3 separate regions of the Homo sapiens genome follow, and all the other regions are linked to region 1. Evidence: promoter capture Hi-C in human tissues and cell types (Jung and others, 2019). All regions are on one chromosome and are shown on one strand. The core of a region is centred on a gene start or on the middle of the fragment in contact, and the rest is flanking DNA. Distances in the headings are between cores, read along the strand shown.

Evidence for each region. Contacts are between HindIII fragments. The study calls those that stand out against the background at their distance.
Region 2: a fragment that was not itself captured here is called in contact with the fragment with the promoter of TMEM160 in region 1 in 3 of the 25 tissues and cell types used here (aorta, liver and mesenchymal stem cells).
Region 3: a contact is called between a fragment that was not itself captured here and the fragment with the promoter of TMEM160 in region 1, in 1 of the 25 tissues and cell types used here (bladder).

What each region holds. Positions count from the first base shown.
Region 1 is chr19:47,046,371-47,051,540 of GRCh38, forward strand. TMEM160 (transmembrane protein 160) reads right to left here and starts at 2,254. Exons shown (of 3, transcript NM_017854.2): 1 at 2,037-2,254; 2 at 223-315. The coding sequence starts at 2,244. RefSeq lists enhancers at 1,682-1,751, 2,261-2,555, 2,679-3,196, 3,197-3,714 and a silencer at 2,032-2,221. The HindIII fragment of the contact is 17,900 bases long and covers 1-5,170 here.
Region 2 is chr19:47,206,836-47,212,005 of GRCh38, forward strand. SAE1 (SUMO1 activating enzyme subunit 1) reads left to right here. Exons shown (of 9, transcript NM_005500.3): 9 at 2,324-3,801. The coding sequence ends at 2,416. Among named protein-coding and RNA genes, the nearest start is that of MIR3190, 18 kb to the right of the region's middle. RefSeq lists enhancers at 2,156-2,905, 3,897-4,191. The HindIII fragment of the contact is 3,338 bases long and covers 1,491-4,828 here.
Region 3 is chr19:47,188,812-47,193,981 of GRCh38, forward strand. The region is part of intron 6 of SAE1 (SUMO1 activating enzyme subunit 1); the gene reads left to right. Among named protein-coding and RNA genes, the nearest start is that of MIR3190, 36 kb to the right of the region's middle. RefSeq lists an enhancer at 279-1,045. The HindIII fragment of the contact is 3,517 bases long and covers 1,890-5,170 here.

The sequences.
Region 1 (5,170 bases), core at 1,004-3,503:
AGAATCAGATCGGAGGGGAGGGGACCATAACCATGTCCTGGGCCACCCATTCAGATGGACCTAGTGCCTATGGGAGGGGTGTCTTCTGGTGGGGGAAGAATGGGGGTTCTATACTTACTACTGGGAGTGGGATGGGGTAGGAGAGTCTACTCTCACCAGGGCAGGTGATAGGGGCTCTGCATTCCCTGGTTCCGTGGGGCGAGAGGGGGGGTCTGCACTCACCATATGCTGCTTCCCGACCCATGTCACTCTGCATGAAGGAGATGACCCCGATGCCCGATGCCAGGAGGCCATTGCGGAACCAGGAGAGGAAGGCTGGAGGGAGGGGGACATGGGGGGATTAACATCACCCCCAACCCTACCTCCTCAATCCCCCTTACCCAGTCAAACTGAGGGGCCTCCCTTCAGCTCACCCCATCCCATCCAGCCGCAAGGCAAGCCCATCCCAAATCCTCACCTCTTCCAGGAAGCCGCTCACCTAACCATATCCCCCCACATCCTCTCTGGCCTCCACCTCAGTGCCCCTCTCCCCCAAACTCTGTAACACTAAGGATTCAAGGGCCGGGTGTGGTGGCTCACCCCTGTAATCCCAGCACTTTGGGAGGCCAAGGCAGGCGGATCATGAGGTCAGGAGTTTGAGACCAGCCTGGCCAACATAGTCAAACCCTGTCTCTACTAAAAATGTTAAAATTAGCAGGGTGTGGTAGCACGTGCTTGTAGTCCCAGCTACTCAGGAAGCTGAGGGAGGAGAATCACTTGAATCCAGGAGGTAGAGGTTGCAGCGAGCCAAGATCATGCCACTGCACTCCAGCCTGGGCGACAGAGTGAGACTCCGTCTCAAAAAAAATAAAGGATTCAAGATAGTCCCTGCAGAATGTGGAGGACAATCTAGGGGCAAAGTTGCAGAACCTCCATCTGAGGAGTCATCTTGGCCAAACCCCTCCCTCTACGTGTACCCCCACGGCCTGCCCACTCACTTCTTTCTCAGAACTCTGGGACAAACTGTTTCCTAATCCAGGCCGCTCTTCAGCCTCGCCCTTCTTTTCCTTCAAATGCCGCCATCTCCTACCGAGTATGGCCTGGGCCAATCCCATCCATGTCCTACCGAGTATGGCCTGGGCCAATCCCACCCACGTCCGTCCCCATTCACGTCCTTTACAAACAGCCCACCACACCCTATATCTAGATGCCCGGTCCTGGCCTAGTGAGGTGACTCACACCTATAATCCCAGCACTTTGGGAAGCCAAGGCAGGAGGATTCTCTGAGCCCAAGAGTTCAGACCAGCCTGGGCAACAAAGCAAGACCCCGTCTCTACATAAATTAAAATAGTTGGGTGCGGTGGTGTATGCCTGTAGCTCCAGCTAAGCAGGAGGCTGAGGCAAGAGGATAGCTTGAGCCCAGGAGTTCAAGGCTGCAGTGGGCTACGATTGCGCCACTGCGGTCCAGCCTCGGTGACAGAGCAAGACACCGTCATTAAAAAAATAAAATTAAAAAAAAAACAAACATGGCCAGTCCGCTCCATTCTGGACCTCGCCTCCGTCACAAGCCCCGCCCTCTGCAGCCTAGATCACCTCCCCCTCCAATCAGCAGAGAGCTTTCTCCCGATTGGTTGTCCCCTTCTCCAATCCTGAACTTCCCCCTCTTCTGCGGGGATCCACACTCCCGCTCTCTGCACAGTGGTGGCCTCTGCAATCGGGATGGACCCATCTTGTACCCAACTCCACAGACCCTAAGCTCTCCCTGAAGCCCCTCTCCCCACGGCAGGCGCGATTCTACGAGGCTGCCTCGCGCAACCCTACCACCCCCTCCAATCCCTACGGCGCCCCGTTACCCGGGGTCCTCGTCCTCCCCGCAAGCCCATCCCCTCTGCGGGCACCTGCGCTCTTGCAGTCTGCGCTTCCGTGCGCTCACACTGAAGCCCTTCTCGGAGCCGAGCCCGGGCCCCGTTTCCTGCAGAAGCCCCCGCCCCATCAAGGTCCCACGCGAGCCCGGGACCCCCGTCCCATCCGCACCGCCCCCACCCCTAGCCACCGACCTGTCTCGTGCGCTTTTCGGAGGAGCCAGGCGTCCGCACGATCCAGCTCGGACACTGGGGGCGGCGAAGCCCCGGCGCGGGGACCGTGGCCGGGGGCGAAGGACCCCCGGGCGCCCCCGCTCCGGGGCCGCTGAGGCGGCAGTAGCGACCTCCGGAAGCGAAGACGGGCAAGGCGAGCGGCCCGAGCCCACCACCAGCCGCCTCCCATGATTCGCACTACGGCCGCCGCGCGCCGTACCGCCCCACCGGCCTCCGGTAGGTTGCAACCCATGTCACTCAGGATGAATGGCTTACCCATTGGCTATGCGCTCGCCACTCAGGTCCGGCGTGAACTGTCCATTGGTCGGAATGGCAGTGATTCCCTCCTCTGTCATCTAGGCCGGTAGTGCCCGTCCCTCCTTGATTTTGTACCGGACTACGAATCCCAGCGATCATTGCGCTCGGGGAAAGCCGATATTCAGAAGTCGCAGGCGAGATGTCTGCTGGGAATTGTAGTTTTAATTCTATCTTTTTTAACGGAGTACATGCCGAGCACCTATTGTAGTTGTTTCTTGGTTGTTTCTCTTTCTTTCTTTCTCTTTCTTTCTTTCTTTCTTTTTCTTTCTTTCTCTTTCTTTCTTTCCTTCTTTCTTTCTTTCTCTCTTTCTTTTTCCCTCCCTCCCTCCCTTCCCTCCCCTCCTTCCTTCCTTCCCTCCTTCCTTTTTTTTCCCCGCCCCGAGACCGAGTCTTGCTCTGTCGCCCAGGCTGGAGTGCAGTGGTGCGATCTCGGCTCACTGCAACCTCCACCTCCCGGGTTCAAGCGATTCTCCTGCGTCAGCCTCCTGAGTAGCTGGGATTATAGGCATGCGCCACCACGCCCAGCTAATTTTTGTATCTTTAGTAGAGACAGGGTTTCACCATGTTGGCCAGGCTGGTCTCGAACTCCTGACCTCAAGTGATCCAACCGCCTCGGCCTCCAAAAGTGCTGGGATTACAGGCGTGAGCCACCGTGCCCGGCCAGGTCTGTCTCTTTAAGACAGATTTGTTTTCTTTGCCCTAACCCATTCCGGGATTCAGCTTTGCCTTCTCTCATCAGCATAAACCTTTTCACTAGCCAGGAATGTGAAAAATGTGTCTGGAATATTTTCAATTTGCACTTAATCCCATTTAAAGCTTCACATTCATTGCAAGCCTGCAGGCTATGCAGTGCAGTCCATTTGAACTCCCTCCTCAAGTGTAACCCCCTTGCTAGCTCCCCTACTTTTCCTCTTCATAAAATCCAAGCCCGGGCCAGGCACGGTGGCTCACATCTGTAATCCCACCACTTTGGGAGTCTGAGGCGGGCAGATCACGAGATCAGGAGTTCGAGACCAGCCTGACCAACATGGTGAAACCCCATCTCTACTAAAAATACAAAAATTAGGCATGGTGGCAGGCACCTGTAATCCCAGCTACTTGTGAGGCTGAGGCAGGAGAATCGTTTCATGCGCGTCCATGTGAAGAGACCACCAAACAGGCTTTGTGTGAGCAAGATGGCTGTTTATTTCACCTGGCTGCAGGCAGGCTGAGTCCGAAAAGAGAGTCAGCAAAGGGTGGTGGATTATCATTAGTTCTTAGAGGTTTTGGGATAGGCGGTGAAGTTAAGAGCAATGTTTTGCGGGCAGGGGTGGATCTCACACAGTACATTCTCAAGGGTGGGGAGAATTACAAAGAACCTTCTTAAGGGTGGGGGAGATTACAAAGTACATTGATCAGTTAGGTGGGGCAGGAACAAATCACAATGGTGGAATGTCATCAGTTAAGGCTATTTTTACTTCTTTTGTGGATCTTCAGTTACTTCAGGCCATCTGGATGTATACGTGCAAGTCACAGGTGATGCGATGGCTTGGCTTGGGCTCAGAGGCCTGACATTTCTGCCTTCTTTTATTAATAAGAAAAATAAAACAAAATAGTGTTGAAGTCTTGGGGGGTGGTATGGAGAGAGAATGGGCGATGTTTCTCGGGGCTGCTTCAAGCAGGATTAGGGGCGGCGTGCGAACCTAAAGTGGGAGAGATTAAGCTGAAGGAAGATTTTGTGGTAAGGGGTGATATTGTGGGGTTGTTAGAAGAAACATTTGTTGTGTAGAAGTATTGGTGATGGCCTGGGTACAGTTTTGTATGAATTGAAAAACTAAATGGAATAAGAGAAGGAGAAAAACAGGTATAAAAGGTCTAAGAATTGGGAGGACCTAGGACATCTGATTAGAGAGTGCCTAAGGAGATTCAGCATAGTCCTGCCAGCAAAGATTATTTGTTTACTTCAGGAGTTAAGAGTGGCAGTTTGGGGATAGCATGAGGAGATATCAGCTGTGATGGCTTGGAGAAACAGTGTAAACCAGCAGTGTAAACAAGAGCAGGGCACGTATGAGTAGTTGAGAACGGAGAATAGGAGTATGACTAGACAGAAAATAGTAGGGATGACAAGTTTTTTTGGGGCACAGTCTAAGTTGGTCCGGTGTCTGGAATGAGACTGGGGCCTAATAAAAAGGATTGTCCATACAGGAGCTCAAATAGGCTGTACCCTGCAGCATTCTGAGAAGCAAAAGAGGTAAAAGTATTGTCCAGTCCTTTTTAAGTTGGTGGCTGAGCTTGGTGAGGTGTGTTTTTAAAAGACCTTTAGTCCGTTCTACTTTTCTTGAAGACAGAGGACCGTAAGGGATATAAAGGTTTCACTGAATACTAAGAGCCTGAAAAACTGCTTGGCTGATTTGACTAATAAAGGCTGGTCTGTTATCAGACTGTATAGAGGTGGGAAGGCTAAACTGAGGAATTATGTCTGACAGAAGGGAAGAAATGACTGCGGTGGCCTTCTCAGACCTTGTAGAAAAGGCCTGTACCTATCCAGTGAAAGTGTCTGCCTAGACTAAGAGGTATTTTGGTTTCCTGACTCGGGGCATGTTGAGTAAAGCTAATTTGCCAGTCCTGGGTGGGGGCAAATCCCTGAGCTTGATGTGTAGGGAAGGGAGGGGGCCTGAATAATCCCTGAGGAGTAGTAGAACAGCAGATGGAACACTGAGAAGTGATTTCCTTGAGGACAGATTTCCACGATGGAAAGGAAATGAGAGGTTCTAAGAGGCGGGCTCATGGCTTGTACTATAGCATAGCCTGCCTTTGCT
Region 2 (5,170 bases), core at 1,910-4,409, 160 kb after region 1:
AAGCCTAGTCACATTTCATTCTCACCAAAACTCTAGCAGGCAGGTGCTTTTTATTTGCCTATTTGCCCAGAGAAGCAAACTTCTTTCTGATCCAAGCTCCATGTGGACAGAGACCTCAGAATCCTTAATGTCTAGCTGAATACCTGGCATAGAGTAGATGCTTAATAAATGTTCCCTTGACTGGGTGCAGTAGCTCATGCCTGTAATTCCAGCACTTTGGGAGGATTGCTTGAACCTAGAAGTTCAAGACTAGCTTGGGCAACATGAGGAGACCTCATCTCTACAAAAGTCCCAGCTACTCAAGAGGGTATGGGAGGATATCTGGAGCTGGGGAGACGGAGGTTGCAGTAAGCCGAGAATGTGCCTCCCACCTGGGTAGCAGAACAAGATCCTATCTCAAAAAATTAAAAACATTTACAAATAAATAAAATTTCCCTGGAAAAATGGCTGACTAACACTATTTGTATATGGTAGATGTGATTGTCCCTGTTTTATGGATGAGGAAAAGGGTTTGGTGCTGAGTTTGAAGAGGAGCAGTTCAGGATGTGTAGCCCCACCTTCCTCATGAATGATGGGACGGTGCTCCTGGGAACCGTTAAACCCTGCCCTGGCAGCTTGCCTAGGTGATGTCTTCCTCTTTAAATGGTAGCTTGTGGTGAAATTTCAATCCTTTCTGGGTTAAGGACCTGTTTGAAAATTTGTGACAATTGTGAACCCTTTCTCAGAAAGATGTATGTGCATACAAGACTCAGTATGTTGTTTCGGGGGCTGACCCTGCCTCAAAAGACAGGGCCACGTGCTCACTCTCCTTCCCACCCCTCTCTCTCGCTCTCTGTTGCCCAGGCTGGAGTACAGTGGTGCCATCACAGCTCACTGCAGACTTGATTTCCCTGGACTTAAGTGATCCTCCCACCTCAGCTTCCTGAGGCACTGAGACTATAAGCACACGCCACCACATCCAACTAATTTTTTTTATTTTTTGTAGATATGGGGTTTTGCCATGTTGCCCAGGCTGGTCTCGAACTCCTGGGCTCAAGTGATTCTCCCGCCTCGGCCTCCCTAAGTGCTGGGATTACAGATGTGAGACATTAAGCCCAGCCCTGTTCTTGTATTTTAAAGTGCTCTGTCTGGTAACCCCACAAGATAATCACCATTGCCATTGCTAAATAGCATTGTCCAGGCCCTCTGGATCCCAGCCCTGACCCCCTGTGGAAGCCTAGCGACTCTATGTCCTCATGGAATAGCCCCCGCTTCTGCATCAGTGTGTTCCTTGATTAAATGTGTCCCCTTAGGTGATAAAGGCCACAGCCTAAGAACTGCCACCTTTCTCAGTTGAATAGTCATGAATAATTATTTCTGCTGTTTGCCCAATGGTGGTGCAACACAGTGTTAGTCATTGTTTTAGTTTTAAGGTGTTTTTTTGTTTGTTTGTTTTTTGTTTTGAGACAGGGTCTCACTCTGTTCCCCAGGCTGGAGTATAGTGGCACTATTACAGCTCACTGCAGCCTCAATGTCCCAGGCTCAAGCGATCCTCCCACCTCAGCCTCCCGAGTAGCTGGCACCTTGGGCATGCATCACCATACCTGGCTAATTTATGTCATTTTTCTTTTTCTCTTTTTTTTTGAGACAGAGTCTCACTGTGTCGCCCAGGCTGGAGTGCGGTGGCGCAATCTCAGTTTACTGCAACCTCTGCCTCCTGGGTTCAAGCAATTCTCCTGCCTCAGCCTCCCGAGTAGCATGCCACCATACTCGGCTAATTTCTGTATTTTTAGTAGAGACAGGTTTCACCGTGTTGGCCAGGCTGGTCTCCAACTCCCAACCTCAGGTGATCCGCCCACTTCAGCCTCCCAGAGTGCTGGGATTACAGGCGTGAGCCACTGCGCCCCACCTATTTTAGTTTTCATATAGACGGGATCTCACCATGTTGCACAGACTGGTCTTGAATTCCTGGGCTCAAGTGATTCTCCCACCTCAGCCTCCCAAAGTGCTGGGATTACAGGTGTGAATGTGCCTGGCCCTGGCCTGTTTTACATTTTTGAGATACATAGTTTAACCCAGGCAAATACATTTCTTAATCTCATGTTAGGAAAATAAGGTAATGTTTGGAGAGGTTAAATAATCTCCCCATGGACACACAGCTTGTAAGGGACAGAGCAAGGAGATAGGACAATCAAAATTGTCTCCAGACATTGCCAAATAGCCCTTTGGGAGCAAAATCGACCCCAGTTAAGAACCACTGCCCTAGACTGCTTTTAGAATTTTTTTTTCCCTCTATTCCTCTTAAAGCACTTGAGCTAAACCCTCTTTTCATTTTTCTCCCCAGGCCCTGTCTCAGCGGGACCCTCCTCACAACAACTTCTTCTTCTTCGATGGCATGAAGGGGAATGGGATTGTGGAGTGCCTTGGCCCCAAGTGAACTCAAGATTTGGCAGCCCCAGAGATGCCAACTGCAGCATGCCCACCTGTATTCCCTGTCCCCTTCCTTCATGAAGGCATCTCCAGGCAAGGAAAACTGAAGTCATTGGCCCGATACAAAACATTTCCTGCAACGAAGGAGGTGGTGCCGACGTGCTGCTTCCCATCACCAGCAGCTGCTCGACAAGGGGCGCAGGGTGGCTGTCTTTGTTCCAGCACTGTTCAGGCTGCCTGTCATCCCGGGCCTGCCAGCTCCCCTGAGTGATGAGCACTTCCAAGCACCCCTCTGCCCTTTCTCTGTCCTTATGCTGTCCCGGCCTCGCCAGCCCTCTGGGGCATTGTGGGAGATGCCTGCCAGGAATGAGCAAGCTCTGTTGCTCGGGAGCCTCTTGTCACCTTCTTGGACTTATTCCCCACCTGATACCTTATAGAGAAAAGTGTGAATTCAGGTGGAGAGTAGGCCCAGGCCCCATGAGGCACCAGTGGAAGCACAGCTCCAAGTTCAGACAGGTGCCCTTAGAGAGGAAAACCATGACAGGCAAATGCATTTCCTCTGGAGTTTGAGACCCTGACAAACAACAGGTGGCATCTGGTGTGCTGTTCTTGAGTTTTCGTTTAGGATTAGTTGAGTTCCAGCTGGGTTTTGGGAGAAAGGAGATGCTACCAAGTCTTGGATGTTAGGGCGAGACCCTGCAAGTTGAGTATTAGAGAGCTTGTCTTTCAAGGCAGGTTCCTGGGGCTTCAGGGCTAGGAGGGAGGAGCCTGCCCTTTTAACAGAACCCCAGTCACATGCGGCTCAAGTCACTCAGAGGCTGTTGCATTTCAGGGCTATGTTGGTCCTTTGTTTACCTCCTAAACCACAGCTGTTTGTGTTTCACATATGTTGTGAATTTTCCTTGGTTCTTTTTAAAGGAATGATAATAAAGTTACTTGCTTTAGGATTTGCTTGTTTTTCTTCCACTTCAGAAGCTTCTGAGAGGGAATGGGATGATCCTACCAGTTGCCTTTTCAGACCTGAGGCTCTAACTCAAGAGATTCCTCCTCTCCCTCACCATTCCTGCCACCATTTTTTCTGGGTGATGCAGCAAGAGTTAAATTGTTCACATTCTAGAATGTGTAGAAGCTTCTGGCTCCAGTTGTCTAATGGATAATTCAGCTAAATAGTGGCTATTTTCAGTGGCAAGAATTATAATAATAAAGGGAAGTCAAAAGTGATGCTTCATATGCCCCAAGTGCCACAGCCGCTACGGGTCAGAGCTTTTATTGGAAGACCAGGTTTGCCTTGATGCAGCCAAAGTGCGTTCCAGTTCACCCCACTCTTGCTTGTGTTTCTTCTTTATGTAAATTGTGTGATGTTTCAATAAATCAGTCTCTTTCCTATTCTGATCCTGCAGCAGTTAGTCGGGGAGAAAAGTGGTCTTCACTACAGAAGGGCCTCTGTTCCTCAACCCTGCATCACCTGCTCCCGCCGGAGGTGAGACAGGGGCTGCATTTCGGAAAGGATCCGTGTCTCGCCACCTTTAGTGCAAGTCAGTGGCGTCAGGGTCAGCAGTTACATTGCTGCATGAATTTCACGTGGTCTTTAAATTCTGAGCTAATTATACTCTTGACTGTAATGTGCAGCCTTGGTCACAAGGGGGAGCAGGTGGGTCTGGATTGATAAAAACAAAATTGTAGAATCGTCCCGGAAGCTTCAAACTTTTCCACCCTGTACCTCTAACGGCAGAGATTAAGTCACCCAGAGGACCCCTCAGGAATCGAGGGGAAAGCTGCCAGCCCCAGGCAAGAAATGTCTAGTTTCTACAAATTTCATAAACTGCCACATGATGTTTGTATTAATCATAAAAATGAAGAAAAAAAGGCCAGGCGTGGTGGCTCACGCCTGTAATCCCAACATTTTGGGAGGCTGAGGCGGACGAATCACGAGGTCAGGAGTTTGAGAGCAGCCAGGCCAACGTGGTGAAACCCTGTCTACTAAAATTACAAAAATTAGCCGGGCATGGTGGCGGGTGCCTGTAATCTCAGCTACTGGGGGAGGCTGAGACAGGAGAATCACTTGAACCTGGGAGGCGGAGGTCGCAATGAGCTGAGGTCGCACCACTGCACTCCAGCCCGGGTAACAGTGTGACACTCCATCTCAAAATCTGCAGTCAGTCAGGCATGGTGGGAGGCTGTGGCGGGAGAAGCACTTCAGCCCAAGAGTTCGTGACCAACTTGGGAAACAAAGCAAGACCCCATCTCCACAAAAAAAGAAATAGCTGAGCATAGTGGCTTGTGCCTGTGGTCACAGCTGCTTGGGAGACTGGGGCAGGAGGATCACTTGAGCCCAGGAGTTTGAGGCTGAAATGACCTGGATTTCACCACTGCACTGAAGCCTGGGTGAAAGAGTGAGACACTGTCTCGAAAAAAAAATCCCAGCACTTTGGGAGGCCGAGGCGGGCGGATCGCGAGGTCAGGAGTTCAACACCAGCCTGACCAACATAGTGAAACCCCGTCTCTACTAAAAAAAAAAAATACAAAAACTAGCTGGGCATGGTGGCGCGTGGCTGTAATCCAGCTACTCAGGAGGCTGAGGCAGGAGAATCGCTTGCACCTGGGAGGCGGAGGTTGCAGTGAGCCGAGATCGTGCCACTGCAGTCCAGCCTGGGCAACAGAGCGAGACTCCATCTCAAAAAAAAAAAAAAAAGTTATCTTGACGTATGTTCTATTAGCTCATTACAGGTGTGGAAGAGATGGCTTAGGTTGCAGGTGGTAA
Region 3 (5,170 bases), core at 2,398-4,897, 140 kb after region 1:
AGGCTTTGCAGAGAGAAGGTACAGAGGACGGGACAGGCAAATATTCAGAGACTATGAGGACTGAGGTGGTTCTGCCAACTGTGGAGGGCCTGGTCACTTGACAAGGCACCTCATTGCACCCCCCTGAGGCTCTCTCAAAGCCCCTTTTCGAGTTAGGACATTGTTATCTCCTGTGTAGTTTTTGTTGATTGCCCTCTGAAATGCTGTGAGAGGGTAGACCATCCATTCTGCCCTCGCCTGCCCAGCCCAGCACCTGGCACAGTCATTGCTCAGTGTATATTTATTGAATGAACAATTGACTGAATGTCAGGCCCAGGGCTTTGCCTTAGGAAACAGGCTGTTGGATAAGAGGTAGTACTACCATACTTTGCAATTTTTCTGGAAATTTATGTCACCTGGGAGTGGAGCAGATTACCAGGCTGTTTCCAGAGATAGCGACTCTCCATAAAGTGAGCCAACCTGGGGGCTGGGCGCAGTGGCTCACGCCTGTAACCCCAGCGCTTTGGGAGGCTGAGGCAGGCGGATCACGAGGTCAGGAATTTGAGACCAGCCTGACCAACATGGTGAAACCCCATCTCTACTAAAAAATATGTATATAAATGAGCCGGGCGTAGTGGTGCGTGCCTGTAATCCCAGCTACTCAGGAGGCTGAGGCAGTAGAATCGCTTGCACCTGGGAGGCGGAGGTTGCAGTGAGCAAAGATCGCGCCACTGCACTCCAGCCTGGGTGACAGAGCGAGACTCTGTCTTAAAACGAACAAACAAAAAAAACAAAAGTGAGCCAACCCTGGGGAGGAGTCTACGTTCAGCTGCAGGGAGCCAGGGAATTGGGGCCGAGGTGTCTGGCACAGAAAAGCTTTGGGCCTGTCTCAGGTAAATGAAGTTTTGATATAGATTCAACTCCCCTGCCCCCCACAATTGAACTGTTTTTGGGGGCCAGCAATTAGGGGCTAATTTGTGACAGTGACTTTATTTTCTTCCTACTAAAGTACTGGTTTATTCGGTGGCCTTGGTGATTAGATTTAGGCATAATAGTTAAATGTAATAGAAGTTTATGTAACAAACAGTGATTAATAATGTTGCTGTCCAGATTCCCGTTATAGCGCTAACCTGATGTTATGAACTGAGATTAAATTTGAATTTGAGTGCTTACATTATTTTGTAAAGGTGGTTGTATATTCACATATCCACAGTTTTTTCTATAAATAACGTGAAACCGTGCTTGGTTTCTCTTTTCCAAAGTTTGCCTTTTCCATTACATGGGCAAGTCCTGAACCTAAGCCGAGACACTAGTCCATCATCTCCAGCAATGAATGTCATCCCCCCAGACTTCAGCATCCTGAGTTAATTAAAAGGTGCAGATGAAGTTAATCAAGTTTGGAACTCTAATTTTGTGCAGTGTTTTGATACGATTTGATGAGTCATCTTTTGGTAGAGCACCTCTCTATCCCTGACAGTGTTTGATCTTAACGGAACAGTTTTATAATGTGTAAACTGGTGGGAGGTGCTCTTCAGAAATGCAGTCAACAGTGGTATGTGTGCGTGTTTGGCTCTTGGGGCGGGGCGGAAAGCAGAACAAAGGAGAATTTAATAAGCGAGAACTTGTCAGGGGCTAGGGTCAGTTCTGAGGCTGCTGCCTGTCAAGAACATGGCTTTCTTCCTGCCCCCCTCCACTGCTGCTAACTGGAGTCTGACCTTCGAGAAAGAGTGAAAAAAGACAGCTTCTGTTTGTTTTGCTGCAAGTAAGTGGCTGGACTGATTGGCCCCCTTCCCAGAGGCCCTGCAAGGACTTCAGATGTGGTCAGCGAGGTATGTGGATGGTGCCAGCCTGCCGGCCCTCGTCCAGCCAAACTGCACCAGGAACAGGCAAGGGTCCCAGAGAAACAGCGGGGTCAGCTGCTGCCGCCTTTGCTCCTGCTCTTAATGCTGTCCTATTTCTTCCTAAGAGGAAGCTGGTTTACTCTCTCAAGATTGATGGGCAAAGTTTTATATGACCACGGTCTCCACTTCTCACCCACTGAACTTACAGCTTGAAATTAACAGAGGCGAGGCCCATCTGGAAAAATGCATTTGACAAAAACTTGATCAAATGGGGGATCCCCTGAGGTGGGTGGCAAAGAACCAGACCACTTGGAATCCTAGGTGCTGTGTCCCTGTATGGACCTGCTGTTTCTTTTGGATTCCATTAGGGTTAAGAAGCACAAATTCTGAAGCTAGATTTGAGTTTACATTTCTGCTCCAGTACTTGGGAGTTACAGTGACCAAGTCATTTAATGTTTCTGAACTTCAGTTTCCTGATCTGTAAAGTAGGATGGGTAGGTTGGGCGTAGTGGGTCATGCCTATAATCCCAGCACTTTGGGAGGCTGAGGCAGGAGGATCACTTAAGGTCAGAAGTTCGAGACCAGCCTGGCCAACATAGTGAAGCCCCGTCACTAGTAAAAATACAAAAGTTATTTGGGCGTGGTTGTGGGCGTCTCCAGCCTGGGTGACAGAGTGAGACTCCATCTCAAAAAAAAAGAAGAAAAACAAAAACAAGTAAATAAATGAATAAAAATAAAGGAATCCAGCCATCTGTTAGTATAGCCAAAGCAGAGGATATTGCATCAAATGTTAAACGCTAGTCCTGTCAGTCACTCCTGAGAGAACAGGGCAACAAGACCCAGAAAGGGTATCAACACTGCCTGAGCAGATGGAGGCAAAGCTGTGCATGGGCTGCTTATAGGGCACAGTCTGAGGCCTTGCAGCAGTCACGTGGAAACTGAGGCTGCCTGCTTTCCAGGTGCAAGGTGATGGACAGTGGCAGGAACCCTGTGCTAGATGACTCTTGTGCGATCTTATTTCTTTGTTACTGGGACACAAGCACCAACTGTCACAAGGGACCAACAAGAGGAGGTGATTTTTTTTTTCAGCTGTTACCACAAAGCTTTTCATCTTTTGGTTTGAAAACATAGCTGTGGGAATAGGCCGGGCGCGGTGGCTCACACCTGTAATCCCAGCACTTTGGGAGGCCAAGGCGGGCCGATCACAAGGTCAGGAGATCGAGACCATCCTGGCTAACACGGTGAAACCCCGTCTATACTAAAAATACAAAAATTAGCCGGGCGTGGTGATGGCCGCCTGTAGTCCCAGCTACTCGGGAGGCTGAGGCAGGAGAATGGCGTGAACCCGGGAGGCGGAGCTTGCAGTGAGCCGAGATCGCGCCACCGCACTCCAGCCTGGGCAACAGAGCGAGACTCTGTCTCAAAAAAAAAAAAAGAAAAAAGAGAGAGAAAGAAAATATAGCTTTGGGAGCACCAAAGCCCAAAGCGTTATAGTGCCTACTATGTGTCAGGCACTATACTAAACATTTCACATGGCTTAGCACTCATGTGATCTTCACGATAACCTGGTGAGCGGGTAATTATTATCACCCTTCCTACTGGTTTGTTGTTGTTGTTGTTGTCGTCGTTGTTGTTTTGAGACAGAGTCTCGCTCTGTCACCCAGGCTAGATTGCAGTGGCACGATACCGGCTCACTGCAACCTCTGCCTCCTGGGTTTGAGCGACTCCTGCCTCAGGCTCCCGAGTAGCTGGGATTAAAAGCGTCCGCCACCATGCCCAGCTAATTTTTGTATTTTTAATAGAGATGGGGTTTTATCATCTTGGCCAGGCTGGTCTTGAACCCCTGACCTCGTGATCCACCCGCCTTGGCCTCCCAAAGTGCTGGGATTACAGGCATCAGCCACCATGCCCGGCTACTTAATTTATTTTTTGAGACAGCCTCTCTCTGTAGCCCAGACTGGAGTGCAGCGGTGTGATTTCGGCTCACCGCAACCTCTGAATCCTGGGTTCAAGCAATTCTACTGCCTCAGCCTCCCAAGTACTTGATTATAGGCACCCACCACACTTTCGGCTAATTTTCCTATTTTTAGTAGAGATGGGGTTTCACCATGTTGGCCAGGCTGGTCTCAAACTCCTGACCTCAAGTGATCTGCCCACCTTAGCCTCCCAAAGTGCTGGGGTTACAGGTGTGAGCCACTGCACCTGGCCTCCTTTATTTTATGGGACATTTTTTGAAAAGAGGCTTGGTCCAAACAGGCAGTACTTGCCACTTCTGCAGTCATTTCTCTACCCTGCCCCAAAATGGTTACTCAGTTGCATTTATTTACTACAATCGGAATACCAGCAGGACATCTACAAAAGTAGAAGTATTGGGTGGTAGCAGATCAGTGCTCTCTGGCATCCAGATCGTCTAGATGGTCACAGCCTTTTTTTTTTTTTTTTTGGAGACAGAGTCTTGCTCTGTCGCCCAGGCTGGAGTGCAGTGGCACAATCTCGGCTCACTGCAACCTCCACCTCCCGGGTTCAAGAGATTCTCCTGCCTCAGCCTCCCGAGTAGCTGAGATTACAGGCACCCACCACCATGCACGGCTAATTTTTTTGGTATTTTTAGTAGAGATGGGGTTTCGCTGTGTTGGCCAGGCTGGTCTTGAACTCCTGACCTCAGGTGATCCACCTGCCTCAGCCTCTGAAAGTGCTGGGATTACAGGCATGAGCCACCACACCTGGCCAATTGTTACAGCTTTGAGTTGACTGCCAAGTGTTGAGGTAGCATTGAGGGTTGCAGAAGCTGTGTTCTTGAAAAAGAGAAGAGAGTAACATTCTCAGAAAGCAAACAGTATTCAGAAGAGTCAATGGGTGTTCTGGAGCTTTTTTCTTTTCTTTCCTTTTTTTTTTTAAAGAAATTACCAGCTGGGTGCTGTGGCTCACGCCTGTAATTCCAGCACTTTGGGGGGCCAAGGTGGGAGGATCACCTGAGGTCAGGAACTTGAGACCAGGAATTTTTCTATTTTTAGTGAAACCCCATCTCTACTAAAAATACAAAAAATTAGCTGGGTGTGGCTGCAGGCACCTGTAATCCCCAGTTACTTGGCAGGTTGAGGCAGGAGAATGGCTTGAACCCGGGAGGTGGAGGTTGCATTGAGCCGAGATCACGCCATTGCACTCCAGCCTGGGCAACAGAGCAAGATTGTCTCAAAAAAAAAAAAAAAGAAAGAAAAGAAAAAGAAAAAGAAATTACCTCTTCTCTGATATGCAGAGCCCCGTCTATACTGGACAGGTGGAAGTTACCAGAGAAATACAGGCCAGGGGCCTTTGTCTGACATTGGCACTGAGAAAAGCATAGCCCAGAA